6 separate regions of the Homo sapiens genome follow, and regions 1, 2, 3, 4 and 6 are each linked to region 5. Evidence: promoter capture Hi-C in 16 types of primary human blood cells and fetal thymus (Javierre and others, 2016). All regions are on one chromosome and are shown on one strand. Each heading gives the region's core, a stretch centred on a gene start or on the middle of the fragment in contact. The rest is flanking DNA. Distances are from core to core; before and after follow the strand shown. Region 1 holds the start of LRPAP1 (LDL receptor related protein associated protein 1). Region 2 overlaps POLN (DNA polymerase nu). Region 3 overlaps MXD4 (MAX dimerization protein 4). Region 4 overlaps ZFYVE28 (zinc finger FYVE-type containing 28). Region 5 holds the start of NOP14 (NOP14 nucleolar protein). Region 6 overlaps CFAP99 (cilia and flagella associated protein 99).

Region 1 (4,717 bases), core at 1,082-3,581, 570 kb after region 5:
ACTGGAGTGACTATTTGCACGAACAATTCTCTCCCCCTACGTTTGAACTGACTGTGGCTCCTCCTGCCTCCTGACCACCCTGGGCCCTGGCACGCTCGGCAGAAAGAGCCACAGCACAAAGACCACCCGGGATGCACTACCGCCACTGAGAACCTCAAAAAGACCCGGACGGGTCTGACGCCTGCACACTTGGCTCCAGGATAGAACACCCTCACAGCACCGCCACCCTCCAAGCTTCCGTTATCTGGAAGGAAAATCAGGACGAATGGGCTCTGCAGGCCTGCCTGCCATAGTACCAGGCTCTCTGGAATGGGGGAAGACACACAAAATCCCCCAAAACACCCTCACCCCCGAAGAACTTCACGTTCTGTTCAGCAAAAAAGACTTGCCCACACAACTAGAACTTCAGGACTTAAAGGGACCAGAAAGATCATCTAGTCCAAGGCTCAGTCCAAAGTGGAGGTGAGCAGCTCGCCCTACCATGGTGCCCAGTGAACCTCAGGGAGGTTTAGGAGACATGACCCAACCCAAGACTGAAACTGGTCAGGCGAGCACCCAGCACCGGGGGACAGTGCAGGGGCAGCCCGAGGGTAGCTGGACCAGTGCAGGGGCAGCCTGAGGGCAGGTGTATTGCTGCAGGAGGCCTGGGCTGACAAAGACAGAGGACCAGCTGGAGGTGGCTGGAGGTAAGGTGGAGCGCACCAGGGCGGCCCTGCAGAGCAGGTGGAAGACTTGGGCCAGCACCCAAAAGGGAGCCGCTGGGGTTCCTGGGTCCGAGTGCACTTCCTCAGCGCCACCTCCAATCGGTCAGGGAGTCTATTTCGGGCTCCCCATTCCTCATGGGGAGGGGGGACTCCACCCACTCAACAGATGCCCAGTGCAGTGGGCACGGGGAGGCAGCACTGCATCCCGGCTGCTCCTGGTCACACCTGTTCCCTGCTGCTGGGAGGCCATCAACACATCCAAACCCAGCCGTGTCCCCAGCCCCTCCAGAATCCCTTCCTCCAAGAAGCCGCCCTGCCGCTCCAGCCCAGAGCGTTCTCCCACCTCCCACCTCCGCAGGCTGAACATTACGCCTGGGGCTTGACTGCTGGTCCCAGGAGCAGTTCAGGAAGGGCCTGTGGAGCTGATGCCCAGGCGTCAATCCCCATCCCCACGCAGTCTTATAACCGTCTGTCGTCTGTCTGTCCCCCACCTGTTTCTCCTCTCCCTTTTCGTTCCAAAAGTTCCTTCTTATTCTGCAAATCACTTACTTTCCCTCTCAAAGACTCAGGAATGCTTAAAACTGGACTATTGAGACAGAGATCTAATCTGACTCCTGCATTTGAGATGAGATAATGAGGCCCAGATGGTCGGCATAGTTCGAAAACACCCATTTCAGGTGTTTTCAGGAACACCTAACAAATGAAGCAACCGTATCTTAATGAAGAGAGCAGCTGGCCCAGGGTCACGCACCAATTAGGAAGCTGTTGTCCCGGGGGGCCCCACCGGCCGAGCCACCTTGGGGGTGCCCTTTCCCCTCGGGGCCTCCGTACCCTCATCTCTCAAATGAAGGAGAGGTCAGGTGAGCGCCCTGTTAAGACTGACTTTCAGCATTCCCAAGGTCGCGTTTTATGTGCTCTAAACCGATCCCATCTCCTCACCTCCTCATTTCTCGCTCAAATGAACAAGCACGGGCTTGCTACTGGGATTCCTTCTGTCCCTGGACACGTCTTTCTACCCAACATTTTGTTTTTCTTGTTTCCCCACATAGGGAGATAAGGTTGAGGGAACAGGCAAAGGCTCGGGAGGCAGGAGACCTGTGATCTAGCCTGGTTCTGTCCCTACGCTCGGGTCAGCAGGCCGCCCAGGCTGGGGAGGGCGACACTGACCCTCGGGGTGCCGGCCGCCACCTGCTTCACACGGCGTCGTCGCCGGCACGGGTACCTTTCCTGCTGCAGAAGGGGTCGGGGCGCCCCACCTGACACTTGGGGGAGGCTGTGCCAAGGACAGGGCGCGTAGGGCACAGGTGCCCCGGCTGCGCCCCCCTCCGCCTCCGACCCCTGGGCCCCGCTCCAACGACCCCAACCACGGCCCCCGCCCCCAGGCCCCGCTCCACCGACCGCGGGCCGCGCTCACTCGCTGGGCCTTCTCCCACAGCTGGTTCAACTTCTCCATGCGGAACTCCTCTCCGGACTCGCGTTTCGGGGACGGCTTGGGCTGGTTCTTCTCCCGCGAGTACTTGCCGCCGTGGCTCGCAGCGGGCCAGGGCCCGAGGAAGAGCAGCAGCAGTAGCAGCGCCGGGAGCCCGCGCAGAAACGACCTGACCCTCCGCGGCGCCATCTTCCTCTGCGACTGGCGCTGCGCGGAGAAAACCTAGCCTGCCGATGCCCCGCCCACTACCCCGCCCCCACCCACCGCGCGGTCTCCTGGGAATTGTAGTTCCTCCGTGAGCGGCCGGCAGCGGCGAGGCCGCCGGCGGACTCCAGCGCCTAGGAAGCCCTGCGCAGGCGCAAGCGTTTCCCAGGCAACCACGCCGCGGCCCGAGGCTGCAGACTCTGGCAGGGGATACAACTGGAGAATGAGGGTGGCCGGGTGGGAGCAGGGATCAGGCCTCACCCAGAGCCCGGAGCCTGGAGCCCGCACGACTCGAGGCCTCTTTCCCTCTCTGCCCCACAGAAAGAGCGGAAAGCCCAAGAACCGGGCCGCGTTTGGCTGAGCCTGATAATGCTCCGGCTTCACGCGCACTGACGCCGACTCTTGCATGTCCAGTGCCGTTGCGGGGTTGGCACTGCGGCCCGGGCCTGGCGCTGAGGAGCCTGGCCCAGCCCGCTTCTGCCCTCCGCGGAGCGCCTGGCCGTGGGTAAGCCCAGGCCAGGTTGTCCCGGGGACGCAGGGCCGCGCAGACGTCCCCCTACGTCCCGGGGCCCCTGCCCCAACCCGCGTCCCAAGCGCCTGCTCTCGCGCCTGCTGCAAGGCAGGACTTCGCGCGCTTTTCCCCAACCCATGACACTCTAGGAAATTCACAGAGCCAAAGTTAGCATAGACCGCTCGTTGGGGGCTTGGCCAGTGAGTTGGGAAGTGCCCTGGAGGTAGCGCGGGAAACAAGGGGAAGGAGGGAGACAGACAGCAGCTGGGCCCCTTTGGGCTCAGAGAAGGGACAAGGGGAGCTCATCTGGCAAGAATGATCTGAAAAGGCCTCCAAGGGTGGGCGGGATTTTGCGGGGGGAGGGAGGAATTTCCAACTGGAGGGACAATGACAAAGGGGGTGAATAGAGCCTGGGCATCTTGAGAGGAATTAATGTTAATTCATTTCCTTTTTTTGCGTGGGGGGATAGGGTCTCTGTCATCGAGGCTGGAGTGCAGTGGCATGATCATGGCTCACTGCAGCCTCGACCTCCTGGGCTAAAGCGATCCTCCTGCCTCAGCCTCCCAAGTAGCTGGAACTATAGGTGCGTGTCACCACGCCCAGCTAATTTTTGAAATTTTTTGGTAGAAATTAGGTCTCCCTATGTTGTCCAGGCTGTTCTCCAACTCCTGGGCTCAAGCAACCCTCCCGTCTTGGTCCCCCAAAGTGCTGGGATTACAGGCGTGGGCCACTGGGCCTACCCTAATTTACATTTAAATTGTATCTTGTGTTGTTCCAGAGAAGATTTCAGGTCCCTGGAATCAAGGTGATCTGCTTCTGTCCTGTGCTGCTTTTCTAGTATTTTCAGAGCCATCGTTTCATTTCTTTTTTTCCAGCTGTTGAGTTGTTTCAGGCAAGAGGGTAAATTCAGTCTGTTACTGCATCTTAGCTGGAAGCACAAGTTCCCAATATGGGATGTATGGGGGAGAGGAGGTAAAGGAATCCCCCAGGAGGGTGGTGGAGGGAGAATGACCTCATGCGAAGTGACTCCAGAGACAGATCAAATGCTGTCATTGCCATCATTGCATGTTTTTAAGCCTCAGGACAGAATGGCCAGGTGAGCCTGGCCTAGATTCTCACCTGTGCCTGCCTTCCCCTTGTGTTCCCTCGTTCCTGCTCTTCTCTCCATCTCCTGGTGCCTAGAATCAGAGGTCACCTGTTTTACCCCACATACATGTTTTGCCCTGACCCCACTCCTGAGAGCTACAGGTAGGTCTTGGTGGGCTTAGAAGGGGATAGTCCAAATTGGCCTATCCCCCCCAAGCATGTCCCTGTTGGTCATCTGGAATGTGGTCCTAACTGCAAATGTTCCAGCTCTGTGAATCCTGCCCCCAGTGTCTCTAGAAAGGCCCGTTATAAACCCACAGGAATTGGAAGCTGGACTGGGAGCAGAGTCTTCTGGGATCCTGCATCTGACAGTGGTGTGGGGTTCTAAGAGCCCTTTTCCTATACAGCCCGGTTTCCCAGATAACTAAGCAATATTTTATTCGTGGCTGCATACACAGGCAATGAAACTAAAGAAAGTCAGGGGATGGCTAAAGGATGGAGGATACCTGGGCTGGGGGAGGAGGGAGAATGCGACGGGTGAACACAGACAGGCTTCCAAAGTGGTGTCCAGGTTGTAGTTCTTCACTAGGTGGTGGGCACACAGGCATGCATTTTTCCTTATCTTTAAATTGTACATATTTCATACACTTCTCCGTATGTATTATACATTTCAAACTAGTACATCTTCTAAAAAATCACAGTGGTTAATGCAATCAGTACAGGTGCCAGGCACATACCAGAGACTCCAGGTGACGGCATGCTCTCCTCTTGGGCTCCTCCTCT
Region 2 (4,830 bases), core at 1,959-4,458, 750 kb before region 5:
AATAGGGCTGGTATAACTAGCACCACATCAAAAAGAAAATAAATGCATTGGGAAAACTATTTGGAACAAAAATGACAAAGGGTTAACTGCTATATTATACAACAAGTTCTCATACATTTACAAGATAAGACAAACAATTCAACAGAAAAATGAGCAAAGAATAGGAAGAGGCAATACACAAAACAGAAAACCCAAAGAGGAAACAAATACAATACTCAGGGAAACGCAAATTAACTATAACTGGAAACACAGGGGAAGAGGTAGTCTCATGTATTGCTGGTAAAAATGTAAATAGACTCTTTCTAGAAGGCAAACTGTCAAGACTTATTAAAATTAATAATGCATACATCACTTTGGGAGTTGGGTGGAGAAAGTGACCCACAGGGAGCTCAAGATGGGCCTCTGGGAATGCTAGTTATGTTTCCTGAACTGGGTTTGGGTTTGTGAAATTTTGACCTAAACTAAACTTAGGATATGTGTGCTGTTTTATATATATACACACACACATATACACATACATATACATATATATGTATATACATATACATATATATGTATATACCTCAGCCATATATATATGAGAGACAGAGTGCTCTTGCCTTAACAAAAACAGATAGGAAATAATATCCATCATCTAACCAAATAATCTCTAACCAAATAATCTCACTCTTGGCTGTTTCACAGAAATATATGCAACAGTAAACAGGTTTAAACCAAAATGTTTATAGCAGTATTGCTCATTATGGCAAAGGACTGAAAATAAAGTAGATACCAATCAGAAGAAAACTGAGGAATAAATTACATAATATCCACATCATGAAATACATAGCCACTAAAAAGAATGACCTTGTTAAAACATAGATTGCAGGGGGGAAAATGACTCCAGCTATAGTGGTTGACTGAAGATGATGACCTCATTTTTAAAAATAATGACCAAATCTCCCCGCTTATGCACACGAAGATGTTACGCACATAACACTCGGGTACCCTGGGAGACCACCTCTGTGATGAAGGTTTGCATTTGAAAAGGTGATTGGAGAGTGAAGGAAGCAGAATCCAACCAAGGAAGACAATGGCTAAGATGCAGTCACTCAAAGGCCTGCCCTGAGCTGAGCATGGTCCTACAGATGTGTCTCCCAATGGGTCAAGACAGCTGGGCTTTTATACCCCTGCACAAACTAGTCACTGGACCAGTCACTCCTGGGGAAGGGGTGGGCCCTTGGGCAAAGAAGTTCTTTGCAGCCAGGCAATCAGGGAGGGGCTGTCCCAGGAGCAGGGACAGTGCTTCAGTACTAAAGGGGCATATGGGAACCACAGTGCTTGCTACACTCCACACTGCACTGCTCATAGCCACTTGCTTCAGGGACGTTCTGGGAGCAGCTCCTGTAGGATTCTGGCGGGCCTTTTCCTTGGGAAATTTATAAAAGGAAGGCACTGGGATGAACTACATCTTGCTGCAGCTGGCCTCAAGGTTGCAAATTACATTCATCTCCCTCCTCTACTGCCCATGCTAACTCCTCACCCTTGCCTATCTCCTCTGCTGCTCTAGGTGGCTTAGCTTACCTGATCAGGTAACCCAAACCCTCATCCCTGAGAGGTAAGCCCCTGGCCACCATGCCCTTCTCTGGCCATAGCCCCAGCATTTGCCATCAAATTTGGGCAGGGGACCATGAGGTGGCCAATCACATCACCTGGGTGCTTCCCTGCCCCCAGTTATGTAGTAACAGCTCTACCTCCACCTGACGCCCACGGTCAGCCACCCCAGAAGATGGAAATTACATTCCTTGCCAGCCAGTCTCTTGGCACAAGGAGCTCAAAATGACCAGACAGCAGCCACAGCTGGAAATTAAATGGCGTTCTTCCTGTGCCCCTGCTGGAAAGGTTTTCCCTTTGAGAGTCAAGACCTTTAAACCTTAAGAACCCAGAGGAGTGTGAGGGAGAAATACAGATTTCTAAGTGGGTCACTGGGAGTGATGACTTTCACCTTTTGGTTCCCAGACCCATTTATTACACAAACCAAGGACACTGCACCACGTACTGGTTAGTGATTTGCAGTGCAGACTGCACCCTGGAGGTGACTGCTTCATCACAGGTGTCACCTCCAGGCTGCACACGAGGTGAGCTGTGCCTTCCACAGACCATCCTGCTGCTCCATCAGGCTGGCAGCTTCTTGGTGTGTGGCTGTGAGGGAGACAGTGAGTCCTACTCTCATGTGCCCACTGCTGCAGTTCCTTGGCTGAGCGCAGGATCCTGTGGATCAAACACTCTGTGAAACTTGGGTGATGGAGCTGACTGAATCCATGAGAATGGGAAAGGCAAACCCATGCCTGTAACGTGTGTTGGTTCTGGCCAAGATGAATCACTGTACCTTCTAGGGCACAAGGGGTTCAGTGTTGTCAAATGACTGTTTCCCTCCAAGGAAGGTACAACTGGGGACTCAGTGTTTGGTCTCTGTTGCTGGAAGATTGGATGTTCTGCAGAGAAATAGCTAGGTCAGCTCTGGTGAGGGGGAGCCCCATGCTATGGGCCATGCACAGCATCTACCCACCCCATGATTACTCCATGAGAGAGCCCAGTGTGCCAGCATGGGCGCAGCAGATGGCAGAGGCTAGATGTCAACTGGCCAAGTCATCCTATTAATGTGGTGGTTTGGTGTGTCCCCATGGTGAATGTTCTTGGGTGGGAAGTACTTCGTGACTGTTCCCACAGATCCCTCCACATGCCTTACTCCAGGAACTCCCTGATCTTCCAATCTTTCTCATTCCAGGTACCTGAGCAACCTGTCAAGCCACTAACCGCTGCCCAAGAGTTCCAAATGTGTTAACACTGGGGCCACTTCTCCTTCCACACAAAGTAGATAGTCAAGGGGCACCACCCAACGTTCTACCCATTGGGTTTCCCTTGAGCACTGTCTTCCAGGGCTGCCTAAATCAGGCTGTTCAGAGCCCACCCACCATGAACCAAGCTCTAACTTTTCCTGCCTCCATCAGCTGGTCTTAAGGCTGCCCCCGTCAGAAGTACCAGTGCCAGCACCAATGATGTCATGGGTTCTGGGCCACATGAAAAGCTTGGTTGTGCCTGCTTGTACCTAGTACTAAATGAGCCACTTCCAACTTGCAATGGACAGCTGCATGCCCACCTCTCAGTGGGTCTGACAGAACCAGCTCATGCTGGCAGTTCTGGCTCATGGTCACTTGATGTCACCATGGCCTCACGCTCCATCTCTACCAGGGCCCAGTAGCATGACAGTTTTGTTTTTGAAAAATTTATAATTTGTTTCTGCAGATAGCATTGCCTTGCTCCAGAGTTCTAGGAGTCTGCATTGAGATTCTTCTGTTGGGGCTTTGCCTTAAGCTTCACATGGCATCTTTCCCCACTACAGATACCTCTAACATCACAAGGTCTGTTGGGTTGGAAGTCCAAGTAGCTGAGCCACTTGCTTCACAGCCTAGGCCTCTTACAGGATGCTTTCCTATGCAGTATTCCCAATGTGGAATATGCTGCCTCCACTCCCTAAACCCAGAGATGCCTATCAGGTGTTATGGTTCACTCTTAATGGTTATGTGGTTAACCACGTTGCAGGATGACTCGACCAGTTAACATCTTCATTCTTAATGCTTCATTCTTAAAAATGCAGTAATTTAGCCAGGTGTGCACTTGTAGTCCCAGCTACTCGGGAGACTGAAGCAGATCACTTTGACCCCAAGAGTTTGAGGCCAGCCTGAGCAACACAGTAAGACCCAGTCTCTTGGGGAAAAATAAAAAATAAAAAAAGGTGGCCAGGCGTGGTGGCTCATGCCTGTAATCCCAGCACTTTGGGAGGCCAAGGCAGGCGGATCATCTAAGGTCGGGAGTTCGAGACCACCCTGACCAACATGGAGAAAGCCCGTCTCTACTAAAAATACAAAAAAAAAAAAAAAAAATTAGCCAGGCATGGTGGCGCATCCCTGTGATCCCAGCTACTTGGGAGGCTGAGGCAGGAGAATCGCTTGAACCTGGAAGGCGGAGGTTGTGGTGAGCTGAGATTGTGCCATTGCACTCCAGCCTGGGCAACAAGGGTGAAACTGCCTTAAAAAAAAAAAGGCACTAATTTGTCCTTTACTTGCAAGGGGATATCCTACCTATCCTCAGACCACTGAACTTCCAAAAACTTCATGGTTGTGGTGGGCCCCAGAATATCTGTGTGCTTATCTCCCATGTTTTGGACAGCAAGACAGCTAACAAACTTGCCATTTCTTGCTTATGCTGATTGGCATGATGTCATCAAAACAGTGGGTGGCGGGATAACATAGCACTGGGGCAAGGTGCAAATTTATATTGTCCATTCAGAGTGAATATTTCTGCAGGGATGGAAAAGAATGTGTTCACCAAATCAATAATTGCATTTCATATACCTGAGGCCTTGTTAATTGCATATGCCACATCCAGCCCACCAGCTGTCATTAGGGCTATAACTTGGTCACAACTATTTGTGGTGTCAATTGTTATTCTCCAGGATCTGACTTCTGTGAGCACCTACCTGGTGAATTAAATGAACATATGACAGGGACCACCCTGTGCCCTGAATCCTGTAGGGGTTTAAGGATGGCACTAACTTCTGCCATTTCTCCTAGGTTGCCATATTGCTATACTAATTCACTATCTTTGCTGGGAAGGCAGTTTCAGCGTCATCCACTTGAGCTTACTCACTAGGAGAGCTCTCATCCTCAGGCCAAGGAGCCAGTACCTGAGGGTTCTTCCAACAGTCTGTTCATTCCAAATAACATGTGGGGACTTGGAAAATGGCTTCGGAGTGAGCCCTCCCATTATAGTGTAATCTGGGCCAAGGTT
Region 3 (4,673 bases), core at 142-2,641, 720 kb before region 5:
ACTCCGGGGTTTCCAGCTGAGTAGGGAGTGGCATTTCTTCCTATTCTTCCCACTAATCCTTCCTGTTAAGAAGAAAGTAGAAGACTATAGGGTTGGGAAAGAGTTTGTTTTCCATCCTGTTGACATTCATGTGACAAAGCGAGAACTCAGTCCCCAGACTCAGGAGCAGGTTTGGGTCAGCACAAGCCCAAAGGAGGTGACAGAGTTCATTCACCAAGGTGGCCACGTGGAGAGGGCCTTTGAAGTGGGGAGGAATGGGAACCACAAGGGCTGGCAGCAGAGCCTGGGACTGGTGGGGTGTCAGAAAGGGCCTCAGGACAGGAAGAGGAGTTGTGAACCCCTGAGGCTCAGCAGGCCAGTGGCATAACCATTTACATTCTAGAAAGATCCCCATGAGGCCAGTGTGTACAGGGCTGACCTGGCCAAGGACTAGGAAAGGAGGAAGGAGCAATGCGAGAAGGCCCTGTGGCGATTAGCCCAGATGATTCCAGCGCCTAATTTGGGTGACCATAATCTCAGCAAAAATGTGGTGGGAAGGGATATAGGGGGCTCAGGGCCCACTTCCCAGAGGAGGCTGTGCCTGAGCTGGTGAATGCAGGGAGCAGGTGGGAGTGGGGGCTGAAGCCAGGGCAGGGGTGGGCCGGACTGAGCTGAAGGACAAAACGCGGTGTTTCAGTTTAATCTGGAGGCCATGGGGACCCAGAGGAGGACTTTAGGGAGGTGAGCAAGGAGACCTTTAAGGTCATTCAGGCTGCCAAGAAGAGGGTGGGTAGGAGGCTGCAGGCAGGGTCCTACTTGGAGGGGGACTTGCTGTAACCCAACAAGCACAAAGATGGAAAACAGAGATGGACTCTGCTGGGAGAATCAAGGGCTTCCCAAAGGACAGGGGTCCTGTCCCAGGTATCCCACCCGCCAGCCTGGTGAGCAGGGGAGGGGTGCGTCTCCAAATCTCAGTGTGCCACCTGTGAGAAGGGCCCAGCATGATGGTACCAGGCACCAATCATACATGGAACTGGGCACAGCCCCTGGCACCTGCATGCCCTCGATAGAAAACGGTAGTGGTGATCCCAAATCCTAATATTTGGGATTTAAATGTCCACATTTACATGAATGGCCAAATCCTGGTGTCTCTGAGGCCCCAGCCACATTCCCAGGAGGAACTGCTTTCTTTCCTGGGGTGCCCCCGCTAATGGCCTCGAGGGCCCTGGGGCCCACACAGGTTCAACGATCCGGACTCTGCTGCTGGGGGTTAGGGGAGCTCAGATTCCTCCCTGAGGCCCCCAGCAGTTACCCTCCATGGCCACCCCACAACCTGCTGGCGGGTCCCACTGGGCCACCTCCAGTGCATAGCTGCCGTGTGCACAGTGTGGCGACCTCACACTCAGGACCCCCCGTATGACCACCCAGCTCCATCAATTCTCCAGCACTCAAGGCAGGCATGTCCTCTCTCAGCTGCCCACTGCTGGGGCCCCCAGGACTCCTCCCTGTGCACCAGGGTAGCTGGGCCCACACCCCCACCAACCCCGGCCCTCGGCAGATCAGAGGTCTCTGCTTCCAAGGGGGTTCCCTCCAAAAGGCCTCCCTGTGGGGGAGCGGGCAGCCAGCCTGGCTTGCTTGGGTGAGAACAAGGCCTCTTCTCCCCACTGCGTGAAGTCTCATCGCCTCACAACCACCCCGTGATGGGCACGACAGGAGCCTGTGTCTCCGTGGTCACCACCAGCACAAGGGGACAGCTGGCTACACCATCTCGCTTCACCTCAGCACGGCAGGTCCCCATGACAGGAAGCAGAAGCCGTGCCCAGGTAGTTCTGGGAACAGGTACAGAGCGATTCTCACAGTGCAGCTCTGAGAGCCAGCAGCCTCTGTGCAGAGGGCTCCTGGCTGGCACGGAGCACCCCAGGGAGCGGGCTGTCCTCGGCCAGCAGGGCCCCAGCACAAGGGCCAGAGGCAAAGTCCCAGTGCCTCTGGGACAAGAGCAACAAGAGCATCCAGTTGGCCAACAGGCCCATGGGGGCGCCCACCTCAACCCCACCTTCACCCAGCTCCAGGCGCCACAGCATCCAGGGAGGCAGCTGTGACGGCGGGCCCGGTGTGGTTGGCGGCACGGGGTGCCGTGCTCCGTCAGGCCTCCCAGGAAAGAGGCTGTGGTAGGGCAACGAGGGCCACGGCCCGAAGGCCACATGGCGTGGTGCCATTGGGCCAGGCTTTCTGCTTGGAGGCCGAGGGCAGGGCGCGAAGCACGCTGACAGTGACAACCACAGAAAGAGCCGGAGCCAGCAGGGTGAGATATAAAAATCTGTATTTATATTACAATGACATAAGGACACAGCACGGCCCACACGGTGGACAGGTGGCCGGGGGCCCCTTTCCCCCTCTAGCGCACGCCCCCCTCACCGGCACCAGGCCCTCGTGTGGCCCCCGACTCTGGCACGGAACCTGCCCTAGTGCCCAACATGGACCTGGGGCCACCCTGCTGGCCGAGGGTCAGGGTCCTCTGTGCAGGCAGTGGGGAGGGGGTCCCAGGTTCCCTGACAGAGGGAGGCAGGGCACGGGGGAGCCTGCCTCACCCAGCGGACAGCACGGGCCGGGGCAGACAGAGCAGGGACCCTAGGGCCACAGACCGGTACAGGGTTCCACCACCCGGGGACACAGGCCCAAGCACCGTGCCACTAAGATGGGGTCTGCAGAGGCAAAGCCTTGCTGCAGCCTCTCCCACTCTGCGAGGATGGCGGGGGTCTGCTATGTGGTTTGCGGGGGTTATCCTGGTATGCGGGAGCTGCCTTCCAATAAGGCTGGGGAACCCAAGCCTGAGTCTGGGTGCTCAGTGGCCGAGAGCACTGGTGTGGGCTGGGAGGGCACACGCAGAGGCTCAGGAGCCCCGGGCTCTGTTCTGCTTCTGTCTGCTCTCTATAGACACGGTGATGGCCTCTTGGTCCCTGCAGCCTCCAGTGATGGCAGCCTGGGCCCCTGACAGGGAGCAGTGGGAGGTTGGAGCATGTGGTGACTCCTAGCACGGGCCCCCACCCAGTGGGCAACCCCTCACCCACCTGCTGATGGCAGGGAGGGGCAGCTGAACAGCACCCCGGGTGGCTGAGACTGCCTCCCAGTCCACGTGGGAACCACGGCCTCAAGAGCCACAGGCTGAGCTGCCGGGAGGGTGGGCTGAGGGGCCACCACTGGTCACCGGGTGGATTCTGCTGGTCAGAGATGAGAGCAGAAGCCCCTAGCTGCCTCAGGCACTGGAGGGTGGGGCAGGGAGCTGGTGCTTCAAGAATTGAGGGCAGGGACACGACCACCTCAGGGCCCTGCAGTGCTGGCTGGGGAAGCAAGCTTTTACACACGGCCCGCCTTGCTCGGAGGTGCCACGGTGTTTGAAATGAAGCCTGGGGGGACAGACTCAGGCAGGCAGGGGAAGCTCCTTTCTGGGCACCCCTGGACCCCAGTGGGGCCGGAAGGAGATGCAGACAGGCCTCCTCACAACCACCCGCAACGCGTTCGGATGCCCCTCAGCTCCAGGCACCATGCCCCCTACAGCCTGCAGGGCAGGTTCTGTGCCAGAGTTGTTTCCAGGGACCCCCTTCCGCCACAGTGGGCCCCCCATCCTGGGGCGTCTATGCGTACGACTGAAAATAGACACGAATTTTCCCCATGATATGGGAATTGGCTACAGATGTACCAGAGGCACGGCAGGCACTGCTATGGGCCAGCCCCAAGGACAGAGGACGTCAGGAAGGAAAGGCGGGTGCAAGCCTCCTGGTGCCAGGCCTGCACCACCCAGCGAGCACAGTCTTCATTGGCTGCCAGTGTCTGAAACCTGGAACCCTCGCCTAGGCCAGGAAGCAGGGGGCTCGAGTCAGGTGACAGGTGAGAATCCATCTCTCTAGTGAGCAAGCAGGCCCCTGCCAGCCACTGGGGAGGGCAACACTGGGGACCAGGTCACAGCCCCTCCGTGCCACCCACAGGGGCCTGGCTGCATCGCCTCCAGGAAGCCCTGGCTGCCGGGAGGGGCTGCCCACAGGAGATGGGAGGACAGCACTAGCTGGGCAGGCCTGGGGCACCCTGAGCCACGAGGGACATGCTGGTGGGAAGGGCAAGGCCTGACACAAGACACAAGGCACACTTTGACGACGTGACGGAGGGACAGGTCCCTGAGACGCTGGGTGGCTCCCACCCCTCAGCAAACAAGGACGCAACAACAGCTAGGAAAATAGAATACAAAAATCTGGTACAGGAAACAGAGGCGGCACACACGGACGTCCCTAGGCCGAGAGTCTTTAGGCTTTCTTCTTTTTAAAAATGGTTTTTTTTTTTTTTCTGGGAAAGCCTCTCTGCCAGCTGAAGCTGCCGCAGCAGAGCTCATGAGAAGCCCTTTCCTAAGGTGGCTCCAGGAGCCCTAACCGGGCTGCTGGGCAGTGCAGCATTTTACTTTTTTGCTTTTTGTTTAAAAAAGGGAGATGAGTAAGCCCCCGAGGACCCAGCGGCTGCAACTTAACCAGCCTCCAGTTCACCCCAGCCCCAGCCAGGAAGAGAAGCCCCTCTCCTGTGCAGACAGGCAGGACTACTGGGTGGGCGTGGGTGAGCAGGAGCTAGAGGGGGATCCAGGCACAGCCCAGGGGCTGTTTGCCAGATGACCCCTGAAGGCCATCATCCCCAGAACATGTGACCTCGGGACG
Region 4 (4,332 bases), core at 673-3,172, 560 kb before region 5:
ACCCTCGGGGGTCCCAGTGGTAGCGGGGGTCCCGGCCCAAGACCTGGGCTGCGTCCTCTCCTCGAGCCTCTCATGAGAAAGACCTTTCAAACAAAACCAGTTCACTTGGCCCTCCCAGCGCTCCCTGAAGCCCCGTGTGCGTGGTGGTGGCCAGCCTGAGGGATTTGGGTCGGGCAGCTCACGACGACCCTGAGGCTTTGTCATGCTGCAGTCTCTGCTGTCAAGAGACACAGAGGAAGAAATCCCGGTCCTGCCGGCTGTGGAGGGACAGTGGTAGCAGCTTTTAAAATCCTCTCCCTGGCGCTGGAGGAGGGACTTGCTCAGCTGGGTCCCCAGTGAGCATGGAGCTCTGCTGCCACCGCTCCCCTCATGGCACCAGGCACCGCACAGACAGCGCTGCAGCTGGGAGCTCGTTTCAACCTGGAGACAGCCCTGCTGGGTGGGCGGGGCCCCTCCTCCCCAACTCCTCCCAAGGTCAGCTGCTCCAGGGCTTGGATCAGTAAGTCGGCCAGGCAAGCCGGCACCGCCCCCGCCATCAGACACCATCTCCCGCCCCGCCCGCTGCAGGAGCAGAAGGTGCTGGAAGGCCATGTCCTGCAGCCTCTGCTTGGCTATGGTCCCCAGAAGTCCTGATGGGTCAGCAAGAGCTGTATTAAGCAGAGCAGGCAACAGCGGCAAAAACTAGCAGAACATCCTCAAGCCAGGACTGCATGTGAGGAAGACAGCGCCAGCATCACTGTTTCATAGTCGGATCCACAAAGCCCGGGGAAGTGGCCGGCAGAAGACAACACGGAAGCCACACAGCAGAGAGCGGGCAGGGAACGCGGTAGACAGTCGCACAACAACACTCACACAGATGCCAAGAAAAAGGCTTAGAAGGGAATATTAAAAACCGTAGCAGCTGTACCAGACTAATAAGCTTAGGTGCGTTTGTGCTCTATTTACCCACCCACATCTAATGATACACCAGTGCTGGAATTTAAGCTCACTCTGCTCTCAGTCAGCCTCTCACTGCATGAAAACCAGGGCAGCACTGACCCATCCCTGCAGGGCCAAGCCTGCCCCCTCCACCAAGGCCCCTCCTCCTAGCTCAGGACCCGGTCAGCTAACACCAGCATGGTCTTCACAGGACGTGCCTACCACCCATCCAGCACCCTCAGAAACAGGATCCCCATTTGGGAGTCTCCATGAGGCTGGCGTGCCATTATCCGTGTTTGAGGAAAGTCAAAGTGCAATGCTGACCTCTCTGACAATGCAGGGCACACAGAACAATACAGGTCCTTTCCCCGTGGCCGCCTGATGACCCCTCTGGGCTGTGGCCCAAGCCTGTGTGGCCCCAGCTGCCTTCTCCTCAGCTACCAGGGCTGCCCTGAGCCCCAGCTCCTCACAGATGCCCCCACACTTCCAGGGCTACAGCCCAGGAGGGGAAAAAGCCTGTACCCCAGCGTCGGGTCTGCAGAGGGATCTGAGATGGGCAAAGGACTAGTGGGACCTTGTCACTGCCACTCAAGTGGGGGCGTGGGAAGCAGTGCGTGGAACCTTCCATTGAGAGAAAGATGCAGTCACACACACGAGTGTCAACACGCAATATGAGCCTTCCAGAATTCTCGGAGCACGGCCCTGGCCATCCCTGGATCGTGGCGGGAGGACATAGCGCACTTCTGAAGACCTCCCCAGGCCTGTGGTTTCGAGGGGTTTGACTTGATTTACAAGCACAGGAGAAGTGGGAGTCCTATCAGGGCACTCCGCTCACCAGGGCTGGGGCAGCTCAAAGCCATAGCACACAGCAGGGCCATAGATGCCCTCTCAGGCCCCTCTCAGCACTCACCGACCCCGCCTCCGATGACCCACTCTCTGTCAAGAACCACAGTGGAAGCCAGCTGCAGTGGCTCACGCCTGTAATCCCAGCACTTTGGGACGCCAAGGCAGGTGAATCACCTGAGGTCAGGAATTCGACACCAGCCTGGCCAACATGGTGAAACCCCGTCTCTACTAAAAATACAAAAAAAAATTAGCTGGGTGTGGTGGTGCACATCTGTGGTCCCAGCTACTCAGGAGGCTAAGGCAGGAGAATAGCTTGAAACCGAGAGGCAGAGGTTGCAGCGAGCAGATATTGCGCCATTGCACTCCAGCCTGGGTGACAAGAGCGAAACTCCATTTCGGAAAAAAAAAAAAAAAAAAAAGAATCACAATGGGGAAAGCAGTTGGCAGTTCCTCAAAGCTGAAGATGGGCCGGGCATGGTGGCTCACACCTGTAATCCCAGCACATTGGGAGGCTGAGACGGGCGGATCACGAGGTCAGGAGATCGAGACCATCCTGGCTAACACGGTGAAACCCTGTCTCTAATAAAAATACAAAAAAAATTATCCAGGCATGGTGGTGGGTGCCTGTAGTCCCAGCTACTCAGGAGGCTGAGGCAGGAGAATGGCATGAACCCGGGAGGCGGAGCCTGCAGTGAGCCAAGATCGCGCCACTGCAGGACGGAGCGAGACTCCGCCTCAAAAAAAAAAAAAAAAAAACGCTGAAGATGGAGCTACACAGTAATTCCACCCAAGCACCTCCCCAAGAGAATCAAATTACAAAGACTCGAACACACACGCTCATGCCAGTGTCATTCATGACAGCCAAAAATGGAGACTACCCAAATGTCCATCAGCAGGTGAATGGAAAACAAAAAGTGGTCTGTCCACTAATGGAATATTATTCAGCCATAAAAATGAAATGCTAACACATGCTACAACATGGATGAAACTGGAAGAAGCCAGACACAAAAGGCCCCACAGCATATGACTCCTTTTATACGAAACGTCCAGAACAGGCAAATCCGCAGAGATGGAAAGCCAACTGGAGGTTCCAGGGGCCAGAGGCAGGGTGAGTGAAGAGTGACTACATAATAGAAACAGGGTGTTTATATGGGATGATGGAAAAGCTTTGAAATCAGAGAGAGCCAATGGCTGCACCACATTGCGAATACAGGAAATATCACTGATGGTTTGCTTTCAATGGTTACCTATATATTCACTGCATTTCACCCTCTCAGTCTCGCTCTTTTTTTTTTTTTTTTTTTTGAGAGAGGGTCTTGCTCTGTCACCCTTGCCCAGGCTGGAGTGCAGTGGCACAGTCGTAGTTCACTGCAGCTTCAAACTCCTGGGCTCAAGCAATCCGTCCCCCTTGGCCACCCAAAGTAGCTGGGATTATAGGCGTAGGCCACCATGCCCAGCCACACTTCAATCTCTTAAAAGATTAAAATATATATATAACAACAAAAATGAACCATAACTAACCTCATCCACAAGCCGAATTTGTCCCCAAAGGCATATCCTTGGATAGTTCCAAAGTGAGCCCCAGATACCCCCAGAGAGTGGCCCGGACAAAGCGGTGCTGGGCCTGGGGCCTTCAGGAGAGAAGCCATGTGTCTTCCCCATACTCCAAGCGGCACCGCGAAGGGAAGATGGGGTGCACCGCCACCTGCTTTTCCATTCTCTCCCCACAGTGAGCTTTGAGGCAGGCCTTACCACCCACAGTCCTTGGCCTTTTCAGAAGTGTCTGGAGCACACCAATTGGACCAAATTTGAGAAGACCAATGGGACTTCCTTGGATTTCAGACGCTGTGGGAGGCTGCAGATCGACTGTGCTGATGGTCGACTGATGGGTGCGCTGAGCAGACTTACAGTTTCCCATCATTCCCTGCAGTGCCCCGCTCCCACTGCAGGCAGCCACATGGCCGAGCTGTAACCTTGAGCAGGCCCAGGCTCTGAGATCTGCAGGCCAGGAAGCCTTCCCTAGGTCAGAGGGAAGGGGCCGGGGCACAGGAGAGTGGCCCCCGTGCCCATTGTCTCTGAGACCTCACGTCCCTTGGAGTGGTCAGGAAGGAGCCAGGTGAGGCCGACAGCCAGCACTCCTGTCACTGTCCCTCGGGTTCTCTTGGTTCTTTCAACAGTTTCAAAATGCCCACTGGCTGGGCGCAGTGGCTCACGCCTATAATCCCAGCACTTTGGGAGGCCAAGGCAGGGGGATCATCTGAGGTCAGGAGTTCGAGACCACCCTGGCCAACATGGTGAAACCCCCATCTCTACTAAAAATATAAAAATTAGCTGGGCATGGTGGCAGGCGCCTGTAATCCCAGCTACTCGGGAGGCTGAGGCAGGAGGATCACTTGAATTTGGGAGGCGGAGGTTGCAGTGAGCCAAGATTGCGCTGCTATACTCCAGCCTGGGCCACAGAATGGATTCTGTCTCAAAAAAAAAAAAAAAAAAGAAAGAAAGAAAGGAAAGAAAATTAGCCGGGCATGGTGGCACATGCCTGTAATCCCAGCACTTTGGGAGGCCGAG
Region 5 (4,573 bases), core at 1,193-3,692:
TATCAATATTATATTAATATTATATCGATATTATTTTAATATTATATCAATATTATTATATTAATATTATATCAATATTATATTAATACTACATCAATATTATATTAATACTATATTAATATTATAATAATATATTAATATTTTAATAATATATTAATATTATAATAATATATTAATATACTAATATAATAATATATTAATATGCTATTACAATAATATATTAATATGCTAATATTATAATAATATATTAATATATTAATATTGTTAGTATATTAATATATAGTAACTATATTAATAATATAGTTAGTATATTAATATATAGTAACTATATTAATATAGTTACTGATTTAAGAACTACATTAATATAACTTATTTTATAAATTATTTCAGAAATAAGGAAACTGAGGCACAGCTATAAAGCAATGTCCTGAGACTGGCACCTGGGGGCTGCCCTCTTCCTGCCAGACTGAGTGCCTCAGAGTGCTACAACTGACCAGAGGGGAGAAGCCAACTGAGGCAGCCTGTTTACTTCTAAGGGACTAACCCACATGAAAAGACCCAGGCCTCCTGCGCCGGCCTCACGGCCCCTACACGCGTTATCAAGCTTGGAGTCAACTGGACGACCTGCTGTCCCTCAGACAGCTGTGAGTGCCACACTTCACCATACCGGGACAATGTGCCTTTGCATGTGTGTCCTCTGCCCACCCTGGGCCCATGAACAGCTCACTCCCCTTGCAAAACTTGACTGTAACTCCCTCTAGAAGAATTTTTGGACTTTCCTAACTATTACACTTTTTCCTGACCGGGATCTCCTAAGGCACTCAGGTTCCATCTTTGATTTCTTCAAATATTTGTGTTTCTTCCAAGGGCCAAGCATTGGAGATCCAAAAAGGAGCAGCAATTCCCGTCCCCGTCCCAGGCCTTCAGCACAGGGCAGGGAGGTGGATCTGCTCAATACCAGAAGTTTGAGCAACCTGTCCTATTTGGGTTACATAGCTTGGGTGGTGAACCTGAGCTGGCCCTTTAGAGACTTTCGGAGGTAAGGCAGACCTTTTGGACAAACTGAGTTGCAAGAGGCGAAGCAAGGACAACAGCCAGACTGTGCGGGACTCGAACGACAAGCCAAGAAGGTTAAGAATAACAGTATTTAGAGAACACTTGCTGTGTGCTCTATGTGCTATCTTACTTAATTCTCACAAACCACCACGAGGGGTAGGATGTATACTATCATCTCTACTTTTGAAATGAGAAAACTGAGGCTTCAGTGGTGAAGACAAATGTGTCTCTTCTAGGGAACCACACTACCTTATTCTCCCACCCCGGCCCGGGGGTGTGTAATGAGGGACTCCTATCGAAGTCAGCTGTAAGTCTATCTTGCCTATTCATTATACAGGCTGTCGTCTTCGCGCAGTAAGGATAATATGTGTTTTGATTCAAAGACCATCCAGCTTGCACACTGTGATGAACAGAGATCAGGAGCTCATGAAGGCAAGGGCAAGTCTTATTTACCTTTATCTCCCCGAACCTAGAAGCGAGGTCAAACAGAAGCGCTCGGGGTAGCAAGAAGGCTTTGTAGATATTGAAATGTGAATGCATGCCCAGCCCTTACCAGGTGCGTGACCTTAGGAAATGCACTTGTCCTTTCTGTGCCTTAATTTTTTCACCAACCTGCTAATGTATGTTCCTCAGTGAAAATTTAAAAAAAAAAAAGTTAAAAAAACTAGGAAGCAATGAGTTTCCATAGAGTTACTTCCCAAGGAACAAGGTTACGCGCTTCGGGAGAGAGCCGATGAAACATCAAACGCAGCATCCTACACAGCCCCTATCCACCGTCCCCAAACCTGCAGAGCTCAAAGTAAACGCGGAAGGGTTAACAAGCAGCTTGGTCCAGGGCGCCGCCCGAAGTGACTGACTCGGCCTGACCCGGTTGGAGGAGTCGCCGAAATAACACGAGTGCAGGGTCTCCAAGACGGCGAGAGTTTCCAGGTCACTCCAGCTCAGAGAACAGCAGAGGCTTTCGGACTATCAAGTCAGTGCCGTGTGCCTGTCACGGCCTGTGCCGCTCAACGAGGAAACCGACGCACCGAGAAGGACGCAGCCGGCCGAGAGCAGCGTGGGGTCCAGATCCTGCCTTCCGGCTCCCCGTGCGCCCCCCGCTTACCTTCCTGAGGGCCCGTGCGCGAGACACCCCGGGCAGTCCCACGTCGTGGCGCGTCTTCCGGCCCAGGATCTGGAACTTCTGCCTGTTAACTTTCACCTCGAACGGATTGGAGTTGGCCTTCGCCGGGCCCCCTCGCGCTCCCGCCGGCGCCCCGGAGGCCTTCCTTCGCGCCCCGACCTTCTTCGCCTTCGCCATGGCGCGCGCCCCGCTGCGCCCAAGGGCCCGAGACCCGAAGAGAGACAGGCGCGCGCTACCCTAAGACACGTGCCGGGCCGCGGAACCGCTTCCTCGTCTCGCGAGAACAGCGCAGCACCTCCGACTCGCGAGAAGTAAACACCGCGCCCGCAGGCTCGGCTTACTCGCCGATAGGCTCAGCGACTACAACTCCCAGCAGGCCACGCGCCGCGGCCCGCCGTGTACTCTTGGCGCAGGGCCTTCTGGGAGCTGTAGTGCCCCGGCCGCGGCGGCGAGGGGCGCTCCCTCTTCAGCTAAGCCGTTAGCGCCGAGCCCGCCCGGGAGCGGGTCGCCGGCCGCGGCGGGCGCCCCTGCCAGTGAGCCCCTGTCCGAAGTGAGCCACGGCATTGACTCGGGGCTGCCCGGGGGCAGGGCACTGAGGAGGGAGTTGCGCGCGCGAGGCGAGGGCGATGGGGCCAAGAAGAACCGGGGCGATAGCGCGGCAGCGGTGACAGCTGGGACCCGCCGCGGTCGGGCTGCCCCCTCCCCTCGCCCCGACCGCTCCCCTGCTGGTGAGGGCCTGCGGAGGCGGCGGCGGCGGCGCCCTTGGTGGCAGTGGTGGCGGCGGAGCAGCCTCCCGGGATCGTGTCCGGAGCTCGAGGAGAGGGTGGTGCCCGGCGAGCTATGCACGGGGGCGGCGGCGTCTCCTCCTGTTCCGCCTCCTCAGTCTCCTCGGTCTCGCAGAATCCGCCGGCGGCGGCGGCGCCAGGACATGGAGCTCGAGAACATCGTGGCCAACTCGCTGCTGCTGAAAGCGCGTCAAGGTGGGTGCGCGGCAGGCGCCCCCGACCCCCCCCCCAGAGAACCCCGAATCCCGGGGAACCCTGGCCCCCCTGAAGGAACCCGACATCCCCGGAGAACCCCGATTTCCCTGGAGAGCCCCGACACCTCCCACTGGGGGAACCCAGATCTGCACGGAGCCGGAGCCGGGGTCTGTGCAGTGTGGTCAGGCTGCCCGGGCCAGGTCCCAGTCCCCATCTCCTGGCCCAGATGAGAGAAGTCTGCGCTTTGCTCTTCTTAGTCTTGCCCTGTGTCCTTGTCCTGTCCTCTCGGTGTGACCTCGGTGACAGTGTTGCTTCAGGATGCGGCAGGCAGTGTCCTGCTTGTGTTGGACAACCTGTCCCACCAAAAAAGAACGGCGTCTTTATGGTCTTAAGGGGGACAAAGAATAGCAGCCTGGGAACTACTCTGGGCGAGAACCTTCCGATAATGATTGTAGGGCAATGTTATTTTTAACATAGCTGCTTGGTTTTGAGGTTTGATCTGAGGCTCTATGGTGTGTCAAGTGTGCTTTAGCACGACGTGGTCACAGATGGACAAGTTGGCAAAAATTCAGCCTTTTATCATTATTAAAGTGAGGCAGAAATTTAAAAATAGTAATAAGTACTGCATTCATTCACTCCAAGAAAAGAAAAAGCCAAGGCCCAGAATGTGGCAAGGCAAGGGTTAAAAAGAAAAGAAGAACAAGTTTTCTTTTGCTTAGCAAGCTCACTTTAAGGACAGTTATAAGATAACGCTGTTCTGTTTGAGAAGTCGAATCCAAAGGAATAGGCTCCAGACACCCCCCTTCCAGAGCAGGGGTGAAGAAAAAAAAAAAAGAGGACAAATATCTGTGTTTAGCCAGTTCTTGGTTTTTTCTTTCAACGCAGCTACAAGGCCACCAGCTATGCAAGGCCACAAGTTATGCCAAGTCATCAGTTATGCTATAGATTATGTGACCTGTCATTATATGATTAACTGCCTTTGTTTTGCTTCTGTAAGTTTGCTTATAAAAATCCTGCTTAGTCTTTGTTCAAGGCTCAGCTTTTTGGATGTGAATCCACTGAGCTGGTGCGTACCTTAACATAAATATCCTCCTGTTTTCACCCATGCTGGTCTCTCTAGTCCTCTGCATCCCGCCACAAAAGCATCAGTTGGTCCAGCCCTTCAGCGGGAGACCCCCACAATCCTCTGTGCAATCCTCTGTCTCGGACCTCATGTCTCCCTTGCCTGCGTCTCAAGAGAGCTGGCGACAGAGCCTCGGACCTCAAGTCCCTGTGCTAGCCACGGTAGTTCTTCACACCCCGTCACTCTTACGGAATTGCTGATTTCCTCTATTTCCTTGCGTGATGGAGCAGCTCTGCTCGGACTGTGCTCCAGGACAGTGTAAATGCCGACTGAAGATGCCACAGCAGCCGG
Region 6 (4,869 bases), core at 1,420-3,919, 540 kb before region 5:
TGGGCTCCATGACCACTTTATTCCAACAGACGCGATGTGAGCCTAGGCGCGCTGGCATCTAAGATTTCTCTTAGTTGGGGGTAGGGTCCATGTTTATTTTTGAGTAACTGATTGATTTTCCCTACTCTCCTCTTCCTACCACCCAGTCGACCCTCTGAAGGGCAAAACCCCTCTGGAGTTTCCCCTTATCTCCAATTCCTTCCCACTTGTTCTTTCTGGAAACTACTCCCATCAGATTTTCACCCAACCACTCCTCTGAAGCTCTTTATCAAAGTCATCCTTGACCTTGATGTTGCAAAATCCGATGATCGGGGTCAGCGCTCATCTCTTCCTTGAACTGTCACTACCACGTGACCCAGCCGACTGTGCCCTCTCCGTGACACAGCATCCTCACTTGGCTGAAACAGATCCCACTGTCCACTTCTCCTCCTCGCTCCTGGCCACTCCTGCTTGATCTCCTTGGCTGGATGCCTCCCCTGCTCACCGACCTCTCAACACTGGAGACCCTGGACTCAGTCCTTGGAACCTACTCTATCCACTCCCTCCCTGGGGGATTTCCTACAGTTACATGGTTTTATAAACAACCATTTTCTCCCAAACTTCTCAAAACCTATATCTCTAGCCTCAACCCTGAAACTCCAGACCTGTTTACCTGTTCTTCACCATTTGGACGCCTAACAGATCCTCTCAAATTTAACGTGTCCCAAACCACACTCTCAGTCTTCCCCCATAAAACCTGCTGCTCCCAAAGCCATCATTTCTTCAGCACAGGATCTTGGGGTAGACACTTGATGGGCTTGTCCACTGAGTGAATGGCTGTTCTCTGTGGGTCTATCCTTGGCCAACTCCAAGGCCTGGAGCAGTTGTATCTGCTCAGAGGCTCCCTTCCTGTGTTTTATAGTTTGAAATTGTGCATGGGATGAAGGCTGAACTTGGGGAAGTGGGGTATCAGTTAGGTTTAGCTGCATGTATTGAAAAATCCCAACATCACAGTGGCCTAAACAAGAATATTACTCATATTTTTATAAAAGAGGTCCATGGAGAGGCAATCGTGGTTGGTATGGCAGCCCTAAAGTCCTCAAGGATCAGCTTTTCTATCTGCCATTCACGTTTCTTCATGATCCAGGATGGCTGCCCACATTCCTGCCATCACCTCCTCGGCCCAGGAACCAGCTGCAAAAGAGAAGATGGATATGCCTCTCTCGTTCAGGGAGACTTTCCAGAAGTCTCACACCTTTCCACTTCTTGAAGGTGGTGGGAGAACTTAGCCACACAACCATGCCCCAGCTGCCAGGGAGGCTGGGAAATGCCATCTTTCAATTGGGCAGCAGTAGACCCAGCTAAAAATCAGAGTTTTCTTATTTGGGAGGAAAGGGGTAGTGGAGATTGAAAAGCAACTAGCAAAAGCTGCCACGTGGGGTTGTGCTTTAAGCACAAGCCATAGGGGCATGACTTGGTAGCAACCCTTAGGAGACTGGCTTTAATCGGGAGAAAAGACTATATTTTAATTAACATACATTTGAGATCTTAGGTAAATGAGTTATCTCCTAGTGGTTGAGAGTGTTGAGCTGTTTTGTGTCTGATGGAATTTAAACCTCCTCATATAATCTCATTTGTGTCTATAAAATATTTCCTAAGGAAAGAGAAGCTTTAGTCTGCCCACCCTTTTTTTTTTTTTTTTTTTTTTGAGATGGCGTCTCGCTCTGTCGCCCAGGCTGGAGTGCAGAGGCACGATCTCAGCTCACTGCGACCTCTGCCTCCCGGGTTCAAGCAATTCTCTGCCTCAGCCTCCCAAGTAGCTGGTATTACAGGCACCTGCCACCACGCCTGGCTAATTTTTGTATTTTTAGTAGAGATGGGTTTTCACCATGTTGACTGGTCTGGAACTCCTGATCTCAAGTGATCTGCCCGCCTTGGCTTCCCAAAGTGCTGGGATTACAGGCATGAGCCACCGCGCCCAGCCTAGTCCAGCCCACCTTTAAAGTTGCCTTAAATATAAGATAGTCAAGTCCTGATCAATGGAGTTAAAATCAATATGAGAAAAAAATCTTTAAACTTGAGAATTAAATCCCACTTCCCACATAGATGGTACTTCACTATTAAAGCTGAACTTTGGAATGCTCAGGTGGGAGGATCGCTTCAGGCCAGGAGTTCAAGACCAGCCTGGGCAACATAGTAAGACCCCTGTCTCTACAAAAAAAAAAAAAAAATTAAGCACAAAATTAGTCGGGCGTGGTAGTACATGCCTAGAGTCCCAGCTACCCCGGAGGCTGAGGCAGGAGGATCACTTGAGCTGCAGTGAGTTATCATCGAGCCACTGCACTCCAGCCTGGGTGACAGAGTGAGACCCTAAATCAGGAAAAAAATAAAATCAGGCTGAGAATTTGAGAATGCATGAATGTAGCTGAGATGCTGAAAGCAGGCGTCACAGTTGGATGAATTTTAGTACCTATTTCCTCCCCAAAGAGGTGATTGTTTTGATGAAGTTCCTAGGCTAATTTCAGTGGGATTCAGAATTCAAGCATCTCTTTTCCTTACATTCACCTTCACATACACCTGCTCTGCGCCAGATTCAGGGGTGCAGAGGCCCCGCCCCAGGGACCTTCAGGCCGGACAGTGAACCAGGGTTCCAGGGGCAGGGCAGGACAATTTGAGTCAGGCTGGACTCCAAAGGAGCTCTTCACCCCCGTCCCCATCTTCAACTTGGTTTGTCCATTTATTCCTTCCAGTTCATTCCTACCAGGTCCGCCCTGGATTGGGGGGCGGGCTTGGCATGGCCCTCTTCCTCCTCCTCGATTTGCATCACCAAAGGGTACCTAGGATCATCCTTTCTCCAGAATGCTCCAGCTCCAGGACAGGGGGAGACGGCAGGGAAACTGTTCCACCTTGGCAGCAGCTCCCACCACACACATGCAGACCATCCACTCTCACCGCCCCCACCAGGCGCAAGAAGGGGCCCTTTTCCTGGGTGTATACCCTGTTCCTCCAGGCAGAGCTGTATCCAGAGCAGATTCAAAAAGGCTGGGGCAAGGGGACCCCATCCCAGGGCAGCCTGACCCACAACGTGACGTGGAGGCAGGGCAAGAAAACTCACTCTTTAACATTGTTTCTCTAGAAGTAGACCTTTACATTTATTTATTAGACAGGATCTCAATGTGTCACCCAGCCTAGAGTGTGGTAGCACAGACATAGCCCAAAGCACCTTCAACCTCCTGGGCTCAAGGGATCCTCCCACCTCAGCCCCCCAAGGAGCTAGGACTACAGGCGTGCCACCACACCTGAGTCATTCTTTAATTTTTTTGTAGAGAAGTCCCCAGTTACGCTGTGGAGTTTTAAAAAACGTCTCAGTGTGGCTGACCCTGGCGAAGATGGGGAGTGGGATTTGTGAGCTGTGAGCTCACTGCCTACAGGGAGCCCCCACTGCTCTCAGCAATGCCTGGAGTGAAAGCCACAAGTCCCCCCTCCCCAAAGAGCAATGCCCCAGAAAAGTGCTTCCTGCTGCCAGCAGCCTATTGCCCCCTGGCTGTGTTATGGCTGCCTGGATCCACCTACCCACCAGGGTTGGCCACCACGCCCACACTGCACCACACCGCACCGCACCCCTGCCATACTGGTGGCCTGGCCTGCTGGGACCCTCCCGAGGAGAGGGGCTGAATTCAGAGAGAGCAGGGACTTAGGGTGAGCCTGTCACAAGCTTAAGGCCCTGCCCTGAGTATTCCTGCCTTGGCAGGCTCAGGGGAGGGTGCTCAGTGGGCCTCCTGGGCCTTTCTGCTCACAGCTGTTGAAATCCCCACGCCAGAGACTCAGCTAGAGGGGATCAGAGGAGAGTGAAAGGACCCTGAGGCTGGGGTGGGGTGTGGGTGGTCTCTCTTCCATGGCCCAGCCTTCCAAGAAGCAAAGGTTTCCCGCAGGATGGGCTGAGGCAGCTTAGGTGGCAGGTCCCCAGGGGCAGGCCATGAAGGGGGTGGGAACCCTCAGAGGGTCTGGGCAGCCTCACCCACAAACCTCTCTCATCTTGCCCAGGCAAGCCTGGCTGCAGCATCTAGATTTCAGCATCTGTGGATTTGCGGGTTTAATGGCTTCTGATCTGGTGTTCTCCAAGCCAGCAGCATCACTGTCTCTTCCCTTGCCCCGAATCATCAGGACCGCACTGGCGCAGGAACGCACCTCCAGGCAGCCTTGCTGGTCTCCAGACATGGGGTGGGGGGAGGGGGACCCAGCCGGGGCCCAGGGCAGGCTCCCGGGCAGTGACGGTCCTGGCTGTGCCAGAGGCTCATGCTCGCTTTGTTCTGGGAGGCCTGGTCTCCAGGGCCTGTTTTCAGCACCAGGGCTTCAAGCCAGATTTCCAAATTCCAAGCGGCCTTTCTTCTGGCCTCCTTAGAGAGAGGCTCCTGCTGGCCTCTGTGTCCATGCACAGCCAGGCTGGTCCCTAAAGCAGCCCCTAAAAGGACAGCCTGGCGTGGTGGCTCACGCCTGTAATCCCAGCACTTTGGGAGGCTGAGGCAGGCAGATCACCTGAGGTCAGGAGTTTGAGACCAGCCTGGCCAACATGGCGAAATCCTGTCTCTCCTAAAAAAATACAAAAATTAGCCACATGGTGGCTATACAAAAATACAAAAAATAGCCACATGGTGGTGGGTGCCTGTAATCCCAGCTACTCAGGAGGCTAAGGCAGGAGAGTCGCTTGAATCTGGGAGATGGAGGTTGCAGTGAGCCAAGAGCACGCCATTGCACTCCAGCCTGGGCAACAAGAGCAAAACTCCATCTCAAAAAAAGAAAAAAAAAGAACAGCCCATGTCAGGCCTCAGGTGGTGCAGCCAGCAGGGAGGTGGGGACACAGGCCCTGGGCTGATGCCATCCCTAGCCAGG

What was found. The method cuts DNA at HindIII sites, captures the fragments that hold promoters and counts their contacts. A CHiCAGO score of 5 or more calls a contact.
Region 1: a contact is called between the fragment with the promoter of LRPAP1 here and the fragment with the promoter of NOP14 in region 5, in 1 of 17 cell types (neutrophils). The highest score is 5.1, in neutrophils.
Region 2: a contact is called between a fragment that was not itself captured here and the fragment with the promoter of NOP14 in region 5, in 1 of 17 cell types (naive B cells). The highest score is 5.0, in naive B cells.
Region 3: a contact is called between a fragment that was not itself captured here and the fragment with the promoter of NOP14 in region 5, in 3 of 17 cell types (neutrophils, fetal thymus and erythroblasts). The highest score is 8.2, in neutrophils.
Region 4: a fragment that was not itself captured here is called in contact with the fragment with the promoter of NOP14 in region 5 in 1 of 17 cell types (neutrophils); the score reaches 5.1 in neutrophils.
Region 6: a contact is called between a fragment that was not itself captured here and the fragment with the promoter of NOP14 in region 5, in 1 of 17 cell types (neutrophils). The highest score is 5.9, in neutrophils.

The regions. Positions count from the first base shown.
Region 1 is chr4:3,530,091-3,534,807 of GRCh38, forward strand. LRPAP1 (LDL receptor related protein associated protein 1) reads right to left here and starts at 2,332. Exons shown (of 8, transcript NM_002337.4): 1 at 2,119-2,332. The coding sequence starts at 2,322. RefSeq lists silencers at 1,822-2,071, 2,512-2,571 and an enhancer at 2,112-2,321. The HindIII fragment of the contact is 16,557 bases long and covers 233-4,717 here.
Region 2 is chr4:2,214,373-2,219,202 of GRCh38, forward strand. The region is part of intron 3 of POLN (DNA polymerase nu); the gene reads right to left. Among named protein-coding and RNA genes, the nearest start is that of HAUS3, 25 kb to the right of the region's middle. RefSeq lists a silencer at 1,110-1,404. The HindIII fragment of the contact is 287 bases long and covers 3,066-3,352 here.
Region 3 is chr4:2,245,150-2,249,822 of GRCh38, forward strand. It overlaps MXD4 (MAX dimerization protein 4), which reads right to left. Exons shown (of 6, transcript NM_006454.3): 6 at 2,283-4,673. Among named protein-coding and RNA genes, the nearest start is that of MIR4800, 2.7 kb to the right of the region's middle. The HindIII fragment of the contact is 3,873 bases long and covers 1-3,328 here.
Region 4 is chr4:2,401,809-2,406,140 of GRCh38, forward strand. The region is part of intron 1 of ZFYVE28 (zinc finger FYVE-type containing 28); the gene reads right to left. Among named protein-coding and RNA genes, the nearest start is that of ZFYVE28, 15 kb to the right of the region's middle. RefSeq lists an enhancer at 1-409. The HindIII fragment of the contact is 2,011 bases long and covers 918-2,928 here.
Region 5 is chr4:2,960,964-2,965,536 of GRCh38, forward strand. It overlaps NOP14 (NOP14 nucleolar protein), which reads right to left and starts at 2,443. Exons shown (of 18, transcript NM_001291978.2): 1 at 2,162-2,443. The coding sequence starts at 2,356. GRK4 (G protein-coupled receptor kinase 4) reads left to right here and starts at 2,608. Exons shown (of 16, transcript NM_182982.3): 1 at 2,608-3,159. The coding sequence starts at 3,108. RefSeq lists enhancers at 1,001-1,070, 2,101-2,634, 2,635-3,168 and silencers at 2,631-3,060, 3,231-3,280. The HindIII fragment of the contact is 6,609 bases long and covers 603-4,573 here.
Region 6 is chr4:2,419,686-2,424,554 of GRCh38, forward strand. The region is part of intron 1 of CFAP99 (cilia and flagella associated protein 99); the gene reads left to right. Among named protein-coding and RNA genes, the nearest start is that of CFAP99, 3.2 kb to the left of the region's middle. RefSeq lists enhancers at 3,070-3,660, 3,661-4,250, 4,251-4,840, 4,841-4,869. The HindIII fragment of the contact is 2,046 bases long and covers 1,647-3,692 here.